Regions from separate parts of the Homo sapiens genome. Here all the other regions are linked to region 1. The links are contacts of gene promoters, found by promoter capture Hi-C in blood cells and fetal thymus (Javierre and others, 2016). All regions are on one chromosome and are shown on one strand. Each heading gives the region's core, a stretch centred on a gene start or on the middle of the fragment in contact. The rest is flanking DNA. Distances are from core to core; before and after follow the strand shown. Region 1 holds the start of TAF1D (TATA-box binding protein associated factor, RNA polymerase I subunit D). Region 2 overlaps PICALM (phosphatidylinositol binding clathrin assembly protein). Region 3 holds the start of EED (embryonic ectoderm development). Region 4 holds the start of HIKESHI (heat shock protein nuclear import factor hikeshi).

The links. The method cuts DNA at HindIII sites, captures the fragments that hold promoters and counts their contacts. A CHiCAGO score of 5 or more calls a contact.
Region 2: a contact is called between a fragment that was not itself captured here and the fragment with the promoter of TAF1D in region 1, in 1 of 17 cell types (total CD4 T cells). The highest score is 5.1, in total CD4 T cells.
Region 3: the fragment with the promoter of EED here is called in contact with the fragment with the promoter of TAF1D in region 1 in 1 of 17 cell types (neutrophils); the score reaches 7.6 in neutrophils.
Region 4: a contact is called between the fragment with the promoter of HIKESHI here and the fragment with the promoter of TAF1D in region 1, in 2 of 17 cell types (non-activated CD4 T cells and naive CD8 T cells). The highest score is 7.5, in non-activated CD4 T cells.

Annotation. Positions count from the first base shown.
Region 1 is chr11:93,740,163-93,742,856 of GRCh38, forward strand. It overlaps TAF1D (TATA-box binding protein associated factor, RNA polymerase I subunit D), which reads right to left and starts at 1,333. Exons shown (of 6, transcript NM_024116.4): 1 at 1,160-1,333. C11orf54 (chromosome 11 open reading frame 54) reads left to right here and starts at 1,510. Exons shown (of 9, transcript NM_001286069.2): 1 at 1,510-1,566. RefSeq lists enhancers at 993-1,502, 1,631-2,316, 2,083-2,202. The HindIII fragment of the contact is 24,379 bases long and covers 1-2,694 here.
Region 2 is chr11:86,065,591-86,068,284 of GRCh38, forward strand. All of the region lies in intron 1 of PICALM (phosphatidylinositol binding clathrin assembly protein), which reads right to left. Among named protein-coding and RNA genes, the nearest start is that of PICALM, 2.1 kb to the right of the region's middle. RefSeq lists an enhancer at 2,140-2,694. The HindIII fragment of the contact is 1,685 bases long and covers 458-2,142 here.
Region 3 is chr11:86,243,359-86,246,052 of GRCh38, forward strand. It overlaps EED (embryonic ectoderm development), which reads left to right and starts at 1,395. Exons shown (of 12, transcript NM_003797.5): 1 at 1,395-1,985. The coding sequence starts at 1,872. RefSeq lists enhancers at 848-1,378, 1,379-1,907. The HindIII fragment of the contact is 4,943 bases long and covers 1-2,694 here.
Region 4 is chr11:86,300,848-86,303,541 of GRCh38, forward strand. It overlaps HIKESHI (heat shock protein nuclear import factor hikeshi), which reads left to right and starts at 1,393. Exons shown (of 5, transcript NM_016401.4): 1 at 1,393-1,631. The coding sequence starts at 1,602. The HindIII fragment of the contact is 4,753 bases long and covers 1-2,154 here.

The DNA of each region.
Region 1 (2,694 bases), core at 83-2,582:
GCCAGAATAGTGGCGCGCGCCTGTGGTCAGGAGGCTGGGGTAGGTGGAATACCTGAGCCTGGGAGGTGGAGCTTGTATGTAGTGAGCCTCAGCAACACAAGGAGACCCTTGTCTCTACAAAAAATTCTTAAAATACTGGCTAGGTGTGTTGGCCCGTGCCTTTGCTCCCAGCCACTCGGGAGGATCGCTTAAGCCGCGGTGGAGGTTGCTGTTAGCCGAGATTGCACCACTGCACTCCAGCCTGGACGACAGAGCAAGACCCTGTCTCAGGAAAAAAAAAAAAAAAAAAAAAAAAAAAAAAAAAGGCATGGCAACAAAAATTAAAGATAACTACTTATTTCATTATTGTACATGCCTTAGTCAATCTCTTGTCTCATTCTGTAGCTTCTTGGGACCTGACATGAGTCATTACATATAAATCCTAGGATGAACTAGCAAAATATTTAAAATATGAAACGATAAGGTCACCAAGAGCTCAGATTTGTTAAATGCCCCCTGTGGTATTTTCCTGGTACAAGGTCTTACTAGTTTTTTTAAGTACAAGATTCTACAAAGTCATTAAATATCGAATGCTCAAAAACGGAATTCAACAAAAATTTGCCCCCATGCTTTAACGGTATACCTGTAGTTAATTTTTTTTAAAAGTAGGGATTATCAAAATAAAGCTAGCTCAATAATCACTTTTTCGAAGTGTTTAGAAGACACTCCTACTTGGGTGTCGATGCCTCCGTGGGGATTCTGCAATTCTTAGAGGCCACGTGGGCAGAGAGCGGCGCTTTACCCGGAGCTAACGCTGTGACCACCAGCGCCTCTCACCCGGCAGCGCCTAACCTGCAGAAAACCGGCGCGAGTAATGGGTACCTCACATACGAAGGTTAAATCATTTAAATCACGTAATAAGGTTAAACTTGTCCGCAACACGATTTAACACCTCCATCTCAAGATATAATGAAGCCCGTCCACACTACAACCACGTTTGTGTGGGACTCATACCAGCCGCGTGGCGCGGAGTGGCCTGCGGCCGTGATCCCTTCACCCTCTCGGACCGACTTCGGAGTCTCGATCCTCCGGACCAACGAAGGGGCCCCGGGAAACCCCAGATATGCAACGCCTCCCCCGCCCGCCAGGCCCGGACGGCCTCGCCCTCTTAGCAACCTACCTAAAACGGCCTCGCAGTGGCCCCAACCGCGCACTTGCTGCTTGTAACCCAGGCCTCGGCCCAAAACCCGCGACTGGCCTGGTGTCCTAGAGCTCTGTACACACCACCCTCCCGACCTCAGCCCTCCAACTCCCGATAACCAGCCGACCTCCTCCAACCGTGCGGAAGAAAAGGGTTGGCTATTTCCGTGGCCCAAGTAATAGTCAGGCCGAAATCTCGCGATACAACTTAGCTTCCGGGAAGAAGGCGAGCGGTGGGAGGAGACGCGACGTGGGGGCGCCATTTTTCTCGCCGCGCAGGGAGGACTGACTAACGTGGGCGGAGCTCTAGCTCGCGTATTCTGAGGAGGCGGGGTTGGCCTAGGCGAAGATCCGGACTCTGGGTGTTTTGCTACCGTGACCGTTTAGGTGAGTGGAATAGCCAAGAACATTTCGGCAAATAACAAAAACAAAACGTGCGGTCACTTGTGAGTGGATGAGAACTGTGAGGAAACAGCCTCTCAGCCCGGTTCGTTTCCGGTGGTCTCGCGTTTGCTGAGCTGTCGCCTGGCTTTCTAAATCTGGTCCCGGGTGTGTGGCGAGGGTGACGGGTGGGATGTGTGCCTGAGTGTTTTGTAATCCTTTGTCTATTTCTGCCTTCAGAAACCCTTGTGTGTTAAAATATTGGAGAAGGCTCATTCTTTGACCATGACTCGAAGTGTGTAACCTTTGTGCTGGACGCCAGTGTTATTCCATAGCACGCCCAGGTCTCCTCCCCACTTTTGCACCTGTTTCGTAAGCTCACCCTTTCTGCCTCCCAGGAGTTGGCTAACATGTCACAAGTGAGACCTGTGGAGGATTTGTTTTTCCTAAGTTTCCTCCTACATCCCCCCTGCCCCACACCATTAGTTCCTTGACCGGTTCCTGAGTTAAGATTAAACAGTGTAAACTAGTTTAGTTTTGGTGGGGTTTTTTTCTCCCAAAGTAATTTTTTTTTTTTTGAGACCGAGTTTCGCTCTTGTTGCCCAGGCTGGAGTGCAACGGTGCGATCTTGGCTCACCGCAACATCTGCTTCCCGGGTTCAAGCGATTCTCCTGCCTCAGTCTCCCCAGTAGCTGAGATTACAGGCGTGCGCCACCATGCCCAGCTAATTTTTGCATTTTTAGTAGAGGCGGGGGTTTCTCCATGTTGGTCAGGCTGGTCTCAAACTCCCGACCTCAGGTGATCCTCCCGCCTCGGCCTCCCAAAGTAATTTTAAAAAGGAATGAACTGGTTTGATTTTTCCGCTTTCAAAATTCTGTTTTCATATGATAAACCACAAAAATCAGTAAAGCTGTCTAGTCTTATTTTATAGTTCACATTTTAGGATTGAACGGGCCTTAAAAGTAATCTGGTCTCTTTACCTGCTTTGCTCCATAGTTTGGACAATTCCGGGGATAAAAAGTCCGATCCTTTAGGCAGCCCACTGCATTTGATCCACAGGGTCTGGGCAATGACGAAGCTCCAGGACTGGTATGGCATGTCCCTCACTGCCGTATTCAGCAGCAAGCCTAGCTG
Region 2 (2,694 bases), core at 50-2,549, 7.7 Mb before region 1:
AAAGTGCCTGGAAAACTGAAGTTCTTCAAATATAAGGGCTGCTATTCCTCTACCTTGATTATGGCTACTAAAGGCCTAAGATTAAACGGAAATCGTGTTTATTTTTACAAACATATTTCAAGTTTGACAACTCTTTCACACTAGGGATGCTAGTCAACACTATTATCCACTAACACCTACAGTATAAGCAAAGCAAAAAAATCTTTCTTCAGTAAGTATATAATGTAGTATGAATTAAGCCATAATTCATGAATTATTAATAATCACTTCCTAATGTGGAAAGATCTTGGCGAGAAACTGACAGAAACCACCTCCACACTCTAAGGGCTTATACGAAAAACAACAGTCCTAAGCATATTTTTTGTTAAATGCTGCCATTTTAAAATGAAATCATTTTCATTAGATTCATATAAATAAGCATCAGTTGCTAGGGGCATTAAAAGGTGCACATAAACTAAGCTTTCACTATAAAGAAAAATTCCTAAAAGACAAAAAATTACTTGAAATGACAGGTTTCTGTATTAAAGCCTAAAGTTCATGATGTCAACACCATGAACTGTCCGTAGAAGACTTTTTAATTTTCTCAAAGCATGTTAGTGTGTGCAAGGAAGGTATTTGTTTAGTAAACCACTCACTGGTCAGACTTTACCTAAGATAAAGGTATTTTATTAGTGAGAACTGATTACAGGACATTTTAATCAACAATGTAGGGAAAATAGTATCCCTGTATTTTAAAACCTCATTGAAAAGAAACAGAAGCACATTAACGACACATATATTTTTAAATCAAATACTACCAGGTATATTCAAGTTCCAAAAACGTGGGAGCTTGTAAACACAGAAGTGGTAGAGAAAAAGAACGACAAATGCAAGATTATCCTCCAAACCTAATCCCAGTTACCATCTATCTGCAGTAGTGGCTATAACAAGAGAAATAGCTAATAACATTTATGAAACAACATGCAAATAGCACTCTTCTAACCCTACCTATTTTCTCCTCTTTTTGACAATGCTTTAAAAGAACCACTGCTACATTTGAAATAAGACACAAACCTTTACAAAAAAAACTTTTAAAAGCCTTATCGATTCTTATTTTGAATGAGGAAAGAGGAAAATAGTTCACACAGTCACAACTAGTTTCTTCATACTCCCATACAAAAAAAAAAAACAAAAAAAAACCAAAAGCAACTAACAAAAGAATTAACACAGTGTCAGGACAAACTGTAAGATTTGGTAGGGCAAACCAAGTAGTATTTGAAGAGCCGTAAATAGCAGAAACGTCTACTACACGTATCAGATAATCAAAAAATCACATATGGCTTTACGATGCATTTTAAAAAGTTTTCTGTTCATAAGAGTGTCACCATTTAAACATATTCTCCATTCTCTAAGACAAGCAAGGACTGAGAGTTTAAAAGCAGCCTGCATGCATATCTGAAAGAATCAAGCACTAATGCTTTTTTATTTAAAACTTTTTTCCACAGTGGAGGAACAATCACAAAGAATAATAGGCTTCTGTGTAGCAAAAACTTGTTCTAACAGCATTCATGAGCACAGTAACTTGGAAGAATCTACATTTCGTACATTTTTTTTAAAGTGCAAACTTTACGGCCAAAGTCCAAATGAGAAATCAAAACAGGCTTCCAGACAGTGAATTATCTTTCAGGGCATGCTCACTCTTGCTTCAAACAGTAAAACAAAGTAACTTTCATGTATGATGAAAGTCAGTCAGACTAATGTGTCCAGTCATTTAAAAAGGGAACTTACTTATCGTGACTATTGCCCTATTTTTCCCTGAAAAGTTTCAGGTCTAAGCTCCATTGGCTTGAGTGATCCAATGAGCTTTGTACCCTGGGGTAAAAGAGCGCAAAGAAAAAGGAGGGTATTACAGGTGACTTCCAGGTTAGAAAAAAGTTACGAGGAGTTAGCTCTACTAATTGTATCTACGTTAGCGAATGGACGAATACTATGTCGTGTAAGAGAAGCTAAAGCTAGTTCCTCAAAAGGTAACTGGCATAATTAAAACATCCAAACTCAAGCATCATCAAACATCATTTTGCCAATTTTTTTAAGGGATGTATGTTATTTGTAAGTAAATTTATTAATCCATTTGGAATTCCAACAGTCTACGCTTAACACTCAAGCTTCTGAATTCAAGCCGCCAGAATTAACAGTTCCAGGAACTGATAAGAGTATCAGCAAAATGCCTTTTTCCATATCCCCATGTGAAAAGCTGGGGGGCAGAGCTGACAGTCACAAACTCACCCCAGTCAAAAGTATGGACAACACAACGATTAAATTCCACCAGAGGCAAATAAAAATCCCAACTTTCCAGAAAGCTTTCCCTACACCAAATTGAATCCTTTTACTTTCACTCCCACAAAGAAGGTAATCTGAAATAAAAGTCGGGTAACTGGGTATGGTATTTAAAATGAGTCGAAGAAACTACACTGAAGCTACTATAGAGGCGATGAAAAGGTAACCCAAAAGCAGGAGGGAAGGTGGAACAGAAAGCCAGGAAGGGATGGGCGAAGCAGCTAGTGGAGCAAAGGAAGTGGGGGATCCCTTCCAGGGAGGCAGCCCGGAGGGATAACAAGGATCTGGATGCAAGGAACCAGGCGTTTACTGAAACCCGAAGGAGGCTGATGAAGAAACAATGGGGCTTGGAGACGCTCAGACGAGGGCGACGAGGCG
Region 3 (2,694 bases), core at 145-2,644, 7.5 Mb before region 1:
TGCCAAAGCACGTCTTACTTTGTCAGGAGCTTACTCTACTCCAGTCTCATCTCTTCTCACCAACTGAGGAGTGCTTAGTAGTGCCTGGAACATTGGAAGTACTGAACAAATGACTGCCGTCATTGAGACCTCAACTTTAATTTTTTTTCGGCTTCTTTATTTCAAAGTCTTCACTGCAGAAACCTCTCATTCTGACCTGCCTTTGCTTTACTTCCTTTTCTCATTCTCAACCAAGAGTTCTCTCTTTATCTACAAAAGAAAGAGTGACTTGCAATCTGCAGATAAGGAAACTGATGTCCTGGTTATAAAGTTATCATGCAGAAATAATTCAAGTATACTAGAATTTTATGGATGGTGCACTCTAGGTGGGTAATGAGGTCTAGAAGAGAAAAGATATACAACATCAAGCAGGTGCCCAAGAAATGGTAGGTCCCTTTCTCCCTTCCTGCCTCCTCATTTTTACAGATGAGGACATTTTTACAGAAGCCCGAATAGATAAGTAGTCACAATCATGTTCTAAGAAAAACAAAAAAAAGGTGGCGGATGCCGTATTTTATTTTTCGTCATCACTCTCCTTTTCCTGCTGCTCATTCAGTTATGGTTTCATGACCCATATAATAATTCCACAAGGCTCACCAATGTTATCTGGCACCTGCTAGAGAATAGATATAGTAACAGAGGCAAATATTTTGGTGAAGTTTAACAGTTGTGTTGCCTTCTAGAATTTCATTGTATCTGATGTGCAAAAACAAGCAAAACATTGTCGGTTAAGTATCACAATCTCATAATGGAGATGAGCACTGATTCTTAGGCCTTGGCGTAGTTCAGGGCCTATCCTTTAGCAGCTAAAAAGAGCACTTTGGCTGTAACTCATTGGAGTCTAGTCTCATAATGTTAGGATATTTCTATTTAAGTCTTAACCACTATTGGTAGCAACTGGAAGGATAATCATTCATTACAATAAATAGTCAACAGAATAAATATCCGACAAGAATTTACGAAGCGTCTAGAGTATAATTCGGTAGCGCTTTGAAATCCACCCTGGGATTCGGAAACCGGGTAGAAAACTACCTGGTTCAGCAAACGAGAATTCAAACAGAGGAGGGGCTTGGAGGAGGCGGGTTTCGACGAACCCAGCGCAAGAGTACGCCACGGCGCCTGCGCATCCCCTGACGGGTACTTTCCATTCGCCAGATGGGGGAAGCCAGGGGGAAGCAGGTTACTGTTTTTGCATTTCTATCTTCAAGGAAGAATTAGGTTATGAATAGTTCCGTGAATAGTCAGGAAGCGCTGTCCTCCAAGTTCAAGATTAAGGAAACGTGGCATGCACAGCTAAAGCAAGAGGTGACGTCTTGTATCTTCCCCCGTTTCCTGGGACATTGGTGGTGTAGCCCATTCCACAGACTTTCGCTCCCTAGCAGCGGGTCGGAGATCGAAGGAACGGGCCAATTGCGGCTGAAACGTCTTTGGAAGGAGGAAGGGGGTGAGGGAGCATCCCTTTGAGTTTCGCCTCTTCTCGAGGCGGTGGTGGGAAGGGAGACATACTTAATACTGCCCTCTTAATCCAACGGACCTTACATCGTGTAGACTGCCGGGAGGGCGGCGGGAAAAGGGCAAGACGGGAGTTGGGGAAGGGAAGGAGCCAGGAAGCCGCGCGGGAGGGCGCGCGCGCGCGCCCCTTTTTCAGCAGTGTGGCGGGGTCGCACGCACGCCCGCCTCGGCGGCTGGGCGCGATTTGCGACAGTGGGGGGGGCGGTGGAGGTGGCGGCGGCAGCGGCAACTTTGCGGCAAGCTCGGGCCGGGCTTGCTTGACGGCGGTGTGGCGGAGGCCCCGCCCCAGGCGGCAGGAACCTGGAGGGAGGCGGAGGAATATGTCCGAGAGGGAAGTGTCGACTGCGCCGGCGGGAACAGACATGCCTGCGGCCAAGAAGCAGAAGCTGAGCAGTGACGAGAACAGCAATCCAGACCTCTCTGGAGACGAGAATGTAAGTGCAGCTTCTGGCAGTTACGAGACTGCGGAGTGAAAGTTTTAAATTCTTTTAAAACGGGGGGCGCGGGGACGAGCGGGCTGCTGTGGGGGGAGGGAGAGGTGTCACTCAGGAAAACGCGGGCGTGCGGGAGAAAATTGAAATTGCCTACGGGGATTTTGATGTGGGGCCGAGAGCAAGCAGGAACTAGGCAAAGGAGAGTGGTTCTAGTGATTGCGTGGGTCTGAGAAGTCTGCCCTGAAATCAGTTTGCATGTGATGGGGAGTGTTTTGGCCTTTGGGGGGATTTAAGGGGAGAGTGCGGGTCTGAGATTCTAGTAGTTTAAAAGGCACGTTAGAGACTTTTCTAAGAAAGTTGGAAGGACGGGGCAGAGTTAGGGACCCTGTTAAAGGAGCGTAAGGGTTGTCACTCTAAGACCCTTGTGGAATTTTCAGGATGGAAAGTGATCTTCGATTTGCGGAGTTTGGGAGACTTTATTAAAGGGGGTTTTGTGTCCGCCTCCGTCCTGTCCGCGGAGACCGGGTGCGCCTGAAGGTCGCCTTTTCTGTAGGAGGAGCCGAATTGAGAGGATCGATTTTTGATTTGGGGGTGGGGAGTGACTACCTTTGAGGAAGTAAGAGTGGGTGATTTCTTCTTTGAACGTTTTTACTTAAGATAAAGGTGAGGGGGGTGGCGACCTGGAAGATTTTGGGCAACAGTGGTATAG
Region 4 (2,694 bases), core at 143-2,642, 7.4 Mb before region 1:
AAATTAGTTAGGAAAGGCAATAATGCTAAATATTAACATTTATTGAGTAAGCTACATTCTGGCCACTATTGAGTACTTTACGTGTAAGAACCCTCAAAACAACTTTATGAGGTAGATACTACTATTACTTCATTTTAAAGATGGGGAAAAGGAGGTATGGGAGTGTTAGGTTAACTTGCCTGAGATTATGTAACTAATAAATGGCAGAGATGGGCTCTGAACCCAGGTAGTGTGGGTGCCTTAATTTATGAAGTGGTCTTCATATGAATGGCCTTTTTATTCTGAAGGTTCTAGGACTTTTTAGATAGTAAGTTGGAAACATTGGTAGATCCTTTCCTACCTCTTCACCTTTGGCACAGCTATCTCAAAGGAGTATCGGTGATAAGATAGGTGATCAGTTTAGGGATCCACAGTGGAGGCCAGAGGACTGTTCCAAACACTGATCCCCCATATATAAACTGAGAACTGGGAAGACAGACCTGCTTTACGGCTGGTGGCCAAGCTCAGATATTTCAAATTGGACAGAGACCCTTTACTATCCTATTCAAGAAGAAAAGGAATTGGAGCTGTGAAAGGGAGAATAAGTATTGGTGGCAATCGGTACTTAATGCCAGTATTTTTTTTTTTTTTTTTGGCTATTGTTTTGTATTTCCTATGAAACTTTTCTGCAGATCCACATAGAAAAAAAATAGACATTTTTACAATAAAACTCCCACTAATTAAGCACAGCCAAGCACTGTTTTAAGTGTTTTATACATATTAGCTCATTTAATCCTCACAGCAACCCTAGGCAATAGGCTCATTATTTGTCTTTTGCAAAGGAGGGGCACTGAAGCACAAAGACATCTACAACTCGTCCACAATTGTACAGCAAATGAATGGGAGAACTAAGTGAAGCTGGAAAGAACTACTATAAATTGTAGACAAGTACAAAACAATTGGTTAAAGATTAATACTTCTGAGACACTGTGTAGCAGAAAGAAACCCGGATTTGGATTAGGACTTGAATTCAGCCTCCAACATTTACTGCTGTGTAAAGATTTGAGGCTGATCACTCCTATAAAATTTGGATTATAATACTTACCTCATAGGGTTTTTGTAAAGATCTAGTGACGTGATTATTGTAAAAGTGCACCGTTAATCTCTCAGATGTCACAGAAACGTTAGAAGCATCTCTTCCCAGGATTGTACATGGAAATGAAGGATCCACAGATTTTGTGGCTATAAAACACCCGGACTACCGATCCCAGTGTGCAAAGCCTCCAGGCTTACCTTCCCGGAAACTGGCGCGGTGCCCTCTGGGACTTGTTCTGGGACTTGTAGTCTTGTACTGGCGCTGGCCCGCCTTTCTTCCTTAGTGGGGAAAACCGGGTGTAAGCCCCGGAAGTACTTGTTGCCTGAGCAGTGGGCTGCTTAGGAAGAGAAGGTCAGAGTTCGCGGGGGCAGAGGCATTCTTGCCGCTGGCCCAGTCACTATGTAGTGGAGGGGCAGACACCCTCCCGCAAATTCTGGAAGGTTCTTAGTCTCGACTAGGGCAGTAGCCCCAGGACTCCTAGTCGCCGGCTTCAGGTCACTGCCGGCTGAACGGAGCTGCCGTCGCCATGTTTGGCTGCTTGGTGGCGGGGAGGCTGGTGAGGATGGGACCGGGTGATATCAGGAAGGGGTCAGGATACCGAGGGCGAAGCCCTACGGCAGGGAGGGTGCGCAGGCGCTAGGGATGCGGGGAAGCCCACTTATTATATTTTGGGTGGGTATGTGAGGATGGAGCGTGGGAAGCTGGGTGCTCTCCTTTGCCCAGCTCTATTCAGATTCTTTCGAATAGTAGTCACAGTATAAGTTGGCATTTATTAAGTGTGCATTTTGTACCAAGTACTGGGCTAAGTGCAATGCACGCCTTTGGTCACTCAGCCTTATGTGTGGCGCTTATTTGGCACTTTGAACTTAATCCTCATAACTCGTGAGATGGTCTTTATCTTTGACATTTTGCAGTTACAGAACTAAGTTCAATCGCCAGTATAAATACCTTCTTTATTAACTTGAGGTAGAGGTGAATTTGGGATTGAATTTGGTCTATAGCAAACTGTTTTTCAAAGATTAAGGTGCTCAGGGAATGTATATCTTTTGGGTCCCTTTGGAAGAACCCGAGTAAAAATAAGCTTAATTTAATTGGAAGTTGGCTGAAACTTAACGTGTGAGCCGTATCTGAGATAACCAGAGAAGGATGCGAGTAGTGTGTTTCCTTATGGGTCAAAATAGATAACTTACCTTGCCAAATTGTTAGAGTAAATGAGAACAGCACCTGGAATTCTTTAGGAATAATCTGGAAGGTGAATCTTGTTTGTTTCCTTAGAAACCACACAGACATCAATTTTCAGGCCTGATTCCTTTCCCCTAGAAGTATTTTTCCTTCTTTTTTCTCCTGGCTTTTTAAAATGTTGCAGTCCCTTTGCTGAATTGTCTTTTTTTCCCATCAAGTTTTGATAATGTATTGTATTCTGTACATATACAGTTCTAAGAAGCCAGAAAGATAAGTTGGAGATGACTAGCCTCATAAAGTTTGTCTCTTGAATGACTGGGAGACCCCTGTGGTGATGGTGGTAATTCATAATCCTGGTGAGATAATTTTGCCCTGCTCTTAATAGGGAAAAAGGACAAACCTGGAATGATTGTGTGACTCAGACGAGTGAGTGTTAT